Linked DNA regions of Homo sapiens: region 2 is linked to region 1. The links are contacts of gene promoters, found by promoter capture Hi-C in blood cells and fetal thymus (Javierre and others, 2016). All regions are on one chromosome and are shown on one strand. Each heading gives the region's core, a stretch centred on a gene start or on the middle of the fragment in contact. The rest is flanking DNA. Distances are from core to core; before and after follow the strand shown.

Region 1 (5,173 bases), core at 1,308-3,807:
CCTTAGCTAGACATAAAGATTCTCCAAGTCCCCACTAGATACAGAGTGTGGATTGGTGCATCCACAAACCCTGAGCTAGACACAGGGTGCTGATTGGTGTGTTCACAAACCTTGAGCTAGACACAGAGTGCTGATTGGTGCACCCACAATCCCTTAGCTAGACACGAAGGTTCTCCAAGTCCCCACTAGACTCAGGAGCCCAGCTGGCCTCACTCAGTGGATCTTCCACTGGGCCGCAGGTGGAGCTGCCCGCCAGTCCCGCACCGTGCACCGGCACTCCTCAGCCCTTGGGCGGTCGATGGGACCAGGCACCTTGGAGCAGGGGGCTGCGCTCGTCAGGAAGGCTCAGGCCGCGCAGGAGCCCGAGGGAGGAGGGTTGGTGGGGCGGAGAGACTCGGGCATGGCTGGCTGCAGGTCCCGAGCCCTGCCCCACGGGGAGGCAGCTAAGGCCCGGTGAGAAATCGAGTGCAGCGCCGGTGGGCCAGCACTGCTGGGGGATCCGGCGCACCCTCCACAGCTGCTGGCCTGGGTGCTAAGTCTCTCACGCCTGGGGCCAGCAGGGCGGGCCGGCCGCTCCGAGTGTGGGGCCCGCCAGGCCCACGCCCACCTGGAACTCTAGCTGGCCCGCAAGCGCCGCGCGCAGCCCCGGTTCCCGCCCGTGCCTCTCCCTCCACACCTCCCCGAAAGCGGAGGGAGCCGGCTCCGGCCTCGGCCAGCCCAGAGAAGGACTTCCATGGTGCAGCGGCGGGCTGAAGGGCTCTTCAAGCGCGGCCAGAATGGGCGCCGAGGCCGAGGAGGCACCGAGAGTGAGCAAGGGCTGTGAGGGCTGCCAGCACGCTGTCACCTCTCAATAGGGTTGTGAGGATTAAATGAGATGATATGTGTAAAGGATTCAGCACATGGTAGGCACACAATAGATGTTACCTATTATGTAAAGCAAACATCTAAATAAGAAGTCACCAAGTCCTGAGCACCTGCCTCCCTACAAGAATCTTTCTTCATAAAATTAACTTGCTCCTCTATCAAAAATACTCATCAAACACTATATATTATCGTTTGTTTATTGCTCATATTCCCTAATAGGCCATGAGCTCCCTAAGCACAAGGATTTTGTCTACCTTACTCTCTACTCTCCACAAAATCAAGTGCATAAAAAACACTCATTAAACACTTAATACACAAGTCACTGAATACATCTTTTGGCTAAAGTCCACTACCCACTTGAGGTACTGCCACTCACCTCTAAACCAACATTTTTCCCTAAGCTTGGTTATCTTAATCATCTAATTAATATGATTCTTCTTAAATTTTCATAGTATTAGGATCTATATTGGAGGGAAAGGAATAAGAATGAACATTTGTTGGGTATCCATTATTTGACAGACTTTATGTCTTCATTTCTAATTTCATACAGTCTTATAAAGTGGGAATTGGAATAACCCACTTTGCCTGTGAGTAAACTAAAGTTCTAGTTACAACCATTGAGAATCCCTATTTCTTTCCATCACAGCGTTTATCTCAGTTTGCAATTACACACTCAAGTGTGATTATTCGTCTAATGCTTTCACCAGACTGTAATCTCAAAGATAGCAGAAAAGGGTCTGCATTTGCTCATAACAGCGCCTAACAAGCAGGCATATAATAAGTATAGGGCTACATAGTAGGTATGTAATAAACATTCAGTGAATAAATGAGTGGAGTGAGCATAGGGGTAGATGTCAAAGAAATCTGGCTTCTTGTAGTGTTTAAATTCCGCAGGCACCATTTTTTCTTAGTAGGCAATATTCGCAAGGAGAAGAACTAGACCCCATGGAGTCTGAGGCGTTTCCAACACTAATAAAAGAGTACCTGATTAATATAGCTATGGCTGTGATTAATAGAGTGCATTTACTATTGTGTGAGCAAATCCCATTCCCTGTGACAAATGTATTCTATACATGAAATGAACAGTACAACATTTTACAGGCTTCACGGTCAACAGTTACATTCCGGGAAATTTTTGACGTTGAACGAATATTCCAAGAATAAATAACTCAAGAAGAACCTGTGACTATATCTCCAGAAACCTTTTGCCGCTTGTCAGTGAAACTAATAGAGTACAGAGCCTATTTAAATGTAAATTTAAATACAACATTTTCTCCACCTTTCTGCTCTCTTTGTTCCTTGTGGTCCGGAGGTTACAGGACTATATATATTCTCCAATACACACGTGTATAGGGATTTGGGGTTTTTGCTTTCAGTTTTATGCAAGACTAAATCAAGGTATTTGGGGATTTGAATGTTCTGTTCCCACAGTTAGGGAGGAGGGAATGTGCTCTGAAAACAGAAAAAAAGTACTCTGGGGCGGGGGCTGAGGCGACCACCGTGGGGCCCATCCTCAGCCTAGGACGCTGTTGCTAGGCAACTCCCTGCGTTCTCAACTCCCGCCCGAGAGCCACTTCCCGGGCCCTCATTGCCAAGGAGATCGACGCCCCAACTCAGCCCTGCCGTAAACACGCGCGGTCTTGCGACAGTGCCGCGCCTGCCGCTACGTGCGCGCCCTCTGCCCCCATCTCCACTCTCCGCCCGGCCGCCATTGCCTCGTGCCCGCGCCGGTCGGTTGGTGGCGCCTTTGTCCTACGGCGGGCAGGTGGGCCGACGCGGAGGCGGCAGCGGCGGGCCTGAGGCGAAGGAGCGGCCGGGAGCCCGCCGCGCTGGTAGCGGTGAGTGCCGGGAAGCGCTGGCCGTCAGCCGAGGCGTGGGGCTGACGGGCAGGCCGTTGTGGGGGGCCTGGCCGGACGGGGAGGCTGAGGCGGGAAGGCCCACTCGACGCGCGGCCACGGTCTCGGCTCCTCTCCGGGTGCGCGCGGTGCTGCGCATGCCCGGTGCGGGGCGCGGCCGCCTCCGGCTCCCGTCAGGCCCAGGCCCGGCCGGCCGAGGCGGCCTACGGTTCTCTGTGGTGGACGCAGGTCGGCGGCGTCGCATCGCAGCCGCCTGTCTGTGCACGAACGGTCGGTCACTAGGAGTCCTCAAGGCTTCTCTGGTTGAGCCGCACATCCCGCACCCCCTGTCGAAACGGTGGAGTCGCTCGCCCGCGGGTCCTCAGCGAGTCAGTGGCGCAGTCGGGATTCGAACCGGGCCCAAGGCGTCCCGTGGCACCGGGCGTTCTCCAGGCGTGCAGCGCCGAGCGGTGTACTGAGCGCTGTCCCCCGCCACCGTCTCGCGGCCCCTGACCGCATTCTCGGGGTGTCTCCTTGTGGTGTGACACCCCACGCGTTTTGTAGGCGCGGACCTCGGGCCCAGAGAACGGGGAGAGGAACTGTTCCCGGGTTTACCACGTAGCTCAGCGCCAGCGTCCGATCCGGCCGGCTTTCCAAGCTCCCGGCGCGGGGCACTGTCCGCTCCCCGCCAGCGGGCGAGGGGCTTCTCTTAGGACGGCGTTGCACACGTTTCAGTCTCGCGTTGCACCTTTATGTCCGTGGACCATCTGTACTGCTATTTACCAAATGTTACATTTTTTAAAAAATTCAAACTGACTCTTTTTTTCTCCTTAAATATATTTAAGGCGGCAACTTCAATCACAAACCGGGTACTGGAAAGCCAGTTATTTTTCTAATGCTTATAAAAAAAATAAATATCTGTCTGTTGAAATAAACAGTGCGTCCTTGTTCCTCCTGAAATTATTCTGCGTTCCACACTTTGGGAAACGCTGCCCGAGGAGTAGCTGATTAATTGTGGTTCTTCTGGCTTGCACTCTGTGCACAGAATTTTTCCTGAGGCAAAGCAGATTCTATGAATGCCCTGGGCTCTTCAGGGATAATGTAACAGCTTTCTTGTAAACTGTTCTCTTTGTTGACTTAAAAGTGTTAGTCCCAGGGAACTGCAAGAACTGTGTTCACTCAGGTGCACCCGGTGTGCCTGAATTTTCTTACAGCGTTGTGATGTCGTAGCCCCCTGTTGGCTCATAAAAAGATGTTTCTACAAATGCTGGGGAAGCTTTTGTGAGTTTTGACAACTCTTAATTTAATGTTTTCTCTATGAGTCAGTCTGGGTGTGAAAACTAACTTTGTGTCTACTTTTTGCAACCAGTAAAGCCCATGCTTTGCATTGTGGATATTAGAAATCACTTGGCTATTTGTTAACATCCATTTCTTCCTTTATTGTGATTTCTTTGCCTTTCTTTGAGCTCATCTGTCACTCTTCAGATTGCCTTTGAAACCTCTGACACTTCTCTTAACCTAAAACTTAGAAACACTGATTTTCCTTGTAGAATGTCCCAGCGAATCCATATTGCAAGGCTCATTGGAAGGAGTTTTTCTAGATTCAGTTTGCTCAATGTTGCATACCTGTGAACACCACAAGTTTAAAGGAGGCATTGACAGATTAACTTACTTGTAAGTTAATAGTGTGTTCATAAGATCTGTTTATGTGAATGTAAGAGCAGATTTAATTTAAATCATTGACAGGAAAGTCCCATAAGTCAGTTCAGGCTTATTCAAGTTTTCTTCCCCTCCCCTCAAAGGCTGTGTAAAAAAATATATATATATGTATATGTATATATATGTGTGTGTGTGTATGTATCTCTCCCCCTGTTAAAAACATGTTTCTTTGGGGTTACCTTGGTATGATCACAATGTAGAATTTACGTAAGGCTAAGGTCATTTTCTTCACATTTCTGAGAATTTGATTTAAGCCCGGCGTCCGTTTCAGAACTTCAGCAAATGGAAACTCATCTACCAGTGCTTGAGAGCTAAGAAAAAACAACTTGTTTGTTTTGGTTTTGTTTTTGTTTTTTCTGAGACAGAGCTTCACTCTTGTTGCCCAGGCTGGAGTGCAGTGGTGCGATCTTGGCCCCCGGGTTCAAGCAATTCTCCTGCCTCAGTCTCCTAAGTAGCTGGGATTACAGGCGTGCGCCACCACGCCCGGCTAATTTTGTATATTTTTAGTGGAGACGGGGTTTCTCCATGTTGGTCAGGCTAGTCTCGAACTCCCAACCTCAGGTGATCTGCCCGCCTCTGCCTCCGAAAGTGCTGGGATTACAGGCATGAGCCACCGCGTCCAACCAGAATAAACAATTTTTGGAAAGACTTTCGTAGTCTGATGAGAAAAGATTTATTGGTTTGAAACTTCATTTTAAATAATCATTGCAAGCAGTCCATGTTTATGACCTGCAGATGGCAGTGCCTTTGTGTAA
Region 2 (5,173 bases), core at 1-2,500, 2.6 Mb after region 1:
CGCGCGCGCCAGGCTTTCGCTATATGGGCGGCCGGTGGGGCGGGGCCTGGAGCGTGATGTCAGCGCGCAGCGGCACGTCCGTCCCGCGTCGTCCCTGGGCTAGATGGTGACTGGCGAGTCCGTTGCCCGCGACGTTTCGGTGTAGTGCGGTCTTGCTAGCTTCTAGGATTTTTCTCTAGCCCTCCCCACCGTCTTTGAAAACACAATGTCTCTAATCCAGCCGCAGAACTGCTTTCTAATTTGTACCTTTTATAAAACTGTGCGCGATCTCTTCGGGGTTGAAGCTCGGGAGGCGGGCTGAGCGAATCCCCGTTTTTCATTGGTTCTCGAGGTTATCATAATAGGTCGCCGCGGTCTCTGCTTGGTGGCTTAAAACGAGGCTGCGGATTTCTCCCAGCGATTGGTTGATGCTCGTTTTGATGGGGACCGCGGTCTCGGACCCAGTCGCTTGTCTTGTTTCGCAGAATCTGAGGATCGCGCGCCGAGGTCTTGCTGACCGGGCGGAGGTCGCGTTGCGAGCGCGCAGACCCGCCGACATCAGCCTCTCCGGGTCTCACTCGCAGCCTTCGCCTCCCCGGACGTTCCCCTCTCCCTCCATGGGTCTTTCTTGGAGCCCTGGCAGCTTGACTCACTTGTGGATTGGGCTATCCGTGGCAATCCTACGCTCACTGTAGGTGCTCAAAAGGGAGCGTGGACGAGACCCGGCAGCCCTCCCACAGCGACGAACGATTTTTTTTCTCCCGTGTATGGAAAGTCCTTTGTCCCAATACTATCATTTCCTCCACTGACTTGAAAGTGCCTTATTTTGTGAGTTTATCAATGGAGATGCTATTTAAAGCTGTAGAACCAGATTGAAAACCTCAAAGGAGTAAGTTTAAGTGGAGAGCGGAAGACCCAGGCCAACGCCTGGGGTACTCTGAAATTTAAGCGCAGGAAAGGAGACTGGGAGGAGTGACTAGCGAGGTAGGGAGAAGACCAGGAGAGTAGGTGTCACCGCCGAAGCTAAAAAAAAAAAAAAAAAAAAAAAGGGATATCACTGAGATAACACCAGCTCTTTAGATATTTATGTATTCCTGCTCTGTTTTGAGTGGTGCAACCTCAATATCCTTAAGCTTCGGGTTGAAAAAGGGGGGTTTTGTCCTCCTGGAGCTATTTGGAAGTCTAGAGGGAAACGTTGTTTGTCACGACTGGGGGAGGTAGAGGCCGTGCTTAAAGTTAGATAAATAAAAAATACGAGTCTGTAATCCCCACACCTTGGGAAGCTGAGGCAAGAGGATCTCTTGAGCCCAGGTGTTCGAGGCTGCAGTGAGCTATGATCATGCCACTGCACTCCAGCCTGGGTGACAAAGCAAGACTCCAACCTGCCTGAAGGAAAGAACAAAGCTTCCGCAGCGTGGAAGGGGACCCGAGCGGGTTGCCACTGCTGGCTGGACCGCCAGTTTTTAGTCCCTTATTTGGCCCTGCCTACATCCTGCTGATTGGTCCATTTTACAGAATGTTGATTGGTCCGTTTTTACAGAGTGCTGATTGGTGTGTTTACAAACCTTTAGCTAGACAGAGAGCACTGATTGGTGTGTTTTCAATCCTTTAGCTAGACGGGAAAGTTCTCCAAGTCCCCACCCAACCCAGAAGCCCAGCCGGCTTCACCTCTTCACCTCGGTAGGCAGAATAAGGGTTCCCCCTAAAGATGTCTATGTCCTAATCCTAATCCTAATCCCTGAAACCTGTGAAGATGTTACCTTGTATGTCAAAAGGGACTTTGCAGATCTGATTAAGTTGAGCATCTTGAGATGCAGAGATGCCCCGGGATTGTCCAGGTGGGCCCCATGTGATCATAAGGGTGATTACAAGAGGGGGACAGGAGAGCCACAGTCAGAGAAGCAGATGTGACAAAGGAGGCTGGGATTGGGGTCAGAGTGATTGGCTGTAAGAAAGTCACAACCGAAGTTAATGGCTTTGAAGATGGAGGAAGGAACCATAAGCCAAAGGGTGCCAGTAGCCTCTGGAAGCTGGAAGACACGAGGGAACAGATTCGCCCCAGAGCCTCCTGAAAGAACGCAGCCCAGGCCAGGCTCTGTGGCTCACACCTGTGCCATCTCGGCTCACTGCAACCTCCGCCTCCTGGGTTCAAGTGATTCTCCTGCCTCAGCCTCCCGAGTAGCTGGGATTACAGGCATGCACCACCACGCCCAGCTAATTTTGTATTTTTAGTAGAGACGGGGTTTCACCATGTTAGGCTGGTCTCGTTTCGAACTCCCAACCTGAGGTGATCCACCCGTCTCTGCCTCCCAAAGTGCTGGGATTATAGGCGTGAGCCATTGTGCCAAGCCCAACACCAGCTCTTTGGATATTTTTGTATTCCTGCTCTGTTTTGAGTGGTGCAACCTCAATATCCTTCCGCTTCGGGTTGAAAAGGGGGGGCGGGGTTTGCCCTCCTGGAGCTATTTGGCAGTCTGGAGGGAAACGTTGTTTGTCACGACTGGGGGAGATAGAGACCGTGCTTAAAGTCAGATAAAAAATATGATTCTGTAATCCCTGCACCTTGGGAAGCTGAGGCAGGAAGATCTCTTGAGCCCAGGAGTTCGAGGCTGCAGTAAGCTATGATCATGCCACTGCACTGCAGCCTGGATGACAAAGCAAGACACTGACTCAATGAAATAAAGAAAAGCAAGGAGCAAGGCGTAGTAGCTCACGCCTGTAATCCCAGCACTTTGGGAGGCCCAGGTGAGAGGATTGCTTGAGCCCAGGAGTTCGATATCAACCTGGGCAACATGGCAAGATCCCATCTCTACAAAAAACTTTTTTTTTAAAAAATTAGCTGGGCATGGTGGCACATGCCTATAGTCACAGCTATTGGGAAGGCTCTCAACAGGGGGCAGTGGTTCTCAACAGGGGGTAGTTCTGTCCCCCCTGCGGACATCTGTCAATATCTGAAGACTTTCTGGTTGTCACAGCTGGAGGAGGGAAGGAGCTGCTCGTATCTCATGGGTAGAGGCCAGGGATGCCACGAAACATCCTGCAAGGCACAGGACAGCCCCACCACGAAGGATTATCTGGTCCCCAATGTCAATAGCTGAGGTTGAGAAGTGCTATTCCAAATGAATCCTGTACAGAAGTTTTTTTCTTTTCTTTTTTAAATAGAGGCAGGGTCTCCCTATGTTACCCAGGCTGATCTTGATCTCCTGGGCTCAAGGAGTTCAAGCCTCATCCTCCCAAAGTGCTGGGATTACAGGCATGAGCCACCATGCCCAGCCTATGGAAGTTTTTAAAACGAAGTTTGGACTAGCTTGGCAACATGCAATCCAATCTCCCAGTTGGAAGAGCCTCAGAGGATCTTTCAGTCATCTGATTCATGATTCTTTCTAACTCTGTCACTGACAGTTTCCAATTCTGGATTCTGTTCCTGGAGCAACTACTGCTATATTCACTCCACTCCATACAAATACACCTGAGTTGCTACGAGAGGGGATTTGCCGGGCACCGTGGCTCACACCTGTAATCCCATCACCTTGAGAGGCAGAGATGGGATCACTTGATCCCAGGAGCACAAGACCAGCCTGAACAACATAGCAAGACTCCATCTCTTAAAAAAAAAAAAGGCCAGTACTGGCGGCGTATACTTGTAGTCCCAGCTACTCCAGGGACTGAGGTGGGAGGATCACTTGAGCCCTGGAGGTCAAGGCTGCAGTGAGGTATGATGGCTCCACTTCACTCCAGCCTGGGTGACAGAGCAAGACTCTTGTCTAAAAAAGAAAGGAGAGAAAGGAAAGAAAGAAATAAGAAAAGATATGAGCTCCCATGCTGCACATCTACCATTTCTCCTTTGAGTTGTTCTCCCAACACATCAGCAGAGTTGGGTCCTCAGGAAGACTCCACAGAATGGTGACAATCCAGCACCTCTCTCAATTATGATATTTGAAACTGTTTTCTCTTCCGCAGCAGTGCTCTTGGGTTTTTTGTTAGGGGTAGCCACTGGGCTTTGGGAAAGAGAAGTGAGAGGAAGAGTGGATGATATCAGCTGCATCTTTCTCTTTGACAAACGAATTCCCTATCCTTCAATAAATACTATCCCACTAACTCCCCAAAGCAATGTCCAGTCCCACCAATACCGTAAGAGTGTCATTTCCTGCTTCAACTCTTGCAAATAATTTTAATAAATTTTTTAAAAATGAGAGTTTGATGAGTAACAAATGTTATCATTGTCAAATTCTCCTTTCCCTAACTACATTCCATGGACTTAAGCCTCTCTCTATACATATTTATGTATACATGCACATATAAATCTTGCTGCTGCCCACTCTTTGGGTCCGCACTACCTTTAAGAGCTGTAACACTCACTGCAGAAGGTCTGCAGCTTAAGACCACGAACCCACTGGAAGGAAGGAACTCGGGACACATCTGAACATCTGAAGGAGAAACTCCGGACACACCATCTTTAAGAACTGTAACACTCACTGCGAGGGTCCGCGGCTTCATTCTTGAAGTCAGCAAGACCAAGAACCCACCGGAAGGAACCAATTCCACACACACTACCACAGGGACTCTGAAATTTTGTTAAATTTAGGAATGGAAGCTGGGTGCAGGGACTTGTGCTTGTAATCCTAGCGCTTTGGGAGGATGAGGTGGGAGGATCTCTGGAGGCCAGGAGTTCAAGACCAGCCTGGGCAATATAGCAAGTCTACAAAAAATGAAAAAAGGCCAGGCACAGTGGCTAACGCCTGTAATCCCAACACTTTGGGAGGACGAGGTGGGCAGATCACTTGAGGTCAGGAGTTCGAGACCAGCCTGGCCAAAATGGTGAAACCCTGTCTCCACTAAAAACACAAAAATTAGCCGTGTGTGGTGGTGCAGGCCTGTAATCCCAGCTGCTCGGGAGACTGAGAATCGCTTAAACCCGGGAGGTGGAGGTCGCAGTGAGCAGAGATTGCACTACTGCACTCCAGCCTGGGCGACAGAACGAGACTACGTGTCAAAAAAAGAAAGAAAAATGTTAGTAGGCATGGCGGCACGCACCTGTAGTCCTAGCTACTTGGGAGGCAAAGGCAGGAGGATCACTTGAGCCCAGGTGTTTCAGGCTGCAGTGAGTCGTGATTGTGTGACTTCTCTCCAGCCTGGGCCACAGAGTGAAGACCTGTCCCCCTCCCTTCCAAAAATTTAGGAATGGCAACTGGGA

Evidence for each region. The method cuts DNA at HindIII sites, captures the fragments that hold promoters and counts their contacts. A CHiCAGO score of 5 or more calls a contact.
Region 2: a fragment that was not itself captured here is called in contact with the fragment with the promoter of NCOA5 in region 1 in 5 of 17 cell types (non-activated CD4 T cells, naive CD8 T cells, naive CD4 T cells and 2 more); the score reaches 9.7 in non-activated CD4 T cells.

What each region holds. Positions count from the first base shown.
Region 1 is chr20:46,087,346-46,092,518 of GRCh38, reverse strand. It overlaps NCOA5 (nuclear receptor coactivator 5), which reads left to right and starts at 2,557. Exons shown (of 8, transcript NM_020967.3): 1 at 2,557-2,702. RefSeq lists enhancers at 2,394-2,443, 2,457-3,270, 3,124-3,333, 3,271-4,085 and a silencer at 2,604-2,953. The HindIII fragment of the contact is 2,710 bases long and covers 1,268-3,977 here.
Region 2 is chr20:43,452,717-43,457,889 of GRCh38, reverse strand. No RefSeq gene overlaps it. Among named protein-coding and RNA genes, the nearest start is that of SRSF6, 2.6 kb to the left of the region's middle. RefSeq lists enhancers at 1-196, 118-277, 338-657. The HindIII fragment of the contact is 271 bases long and covers 1,115-1,385 here.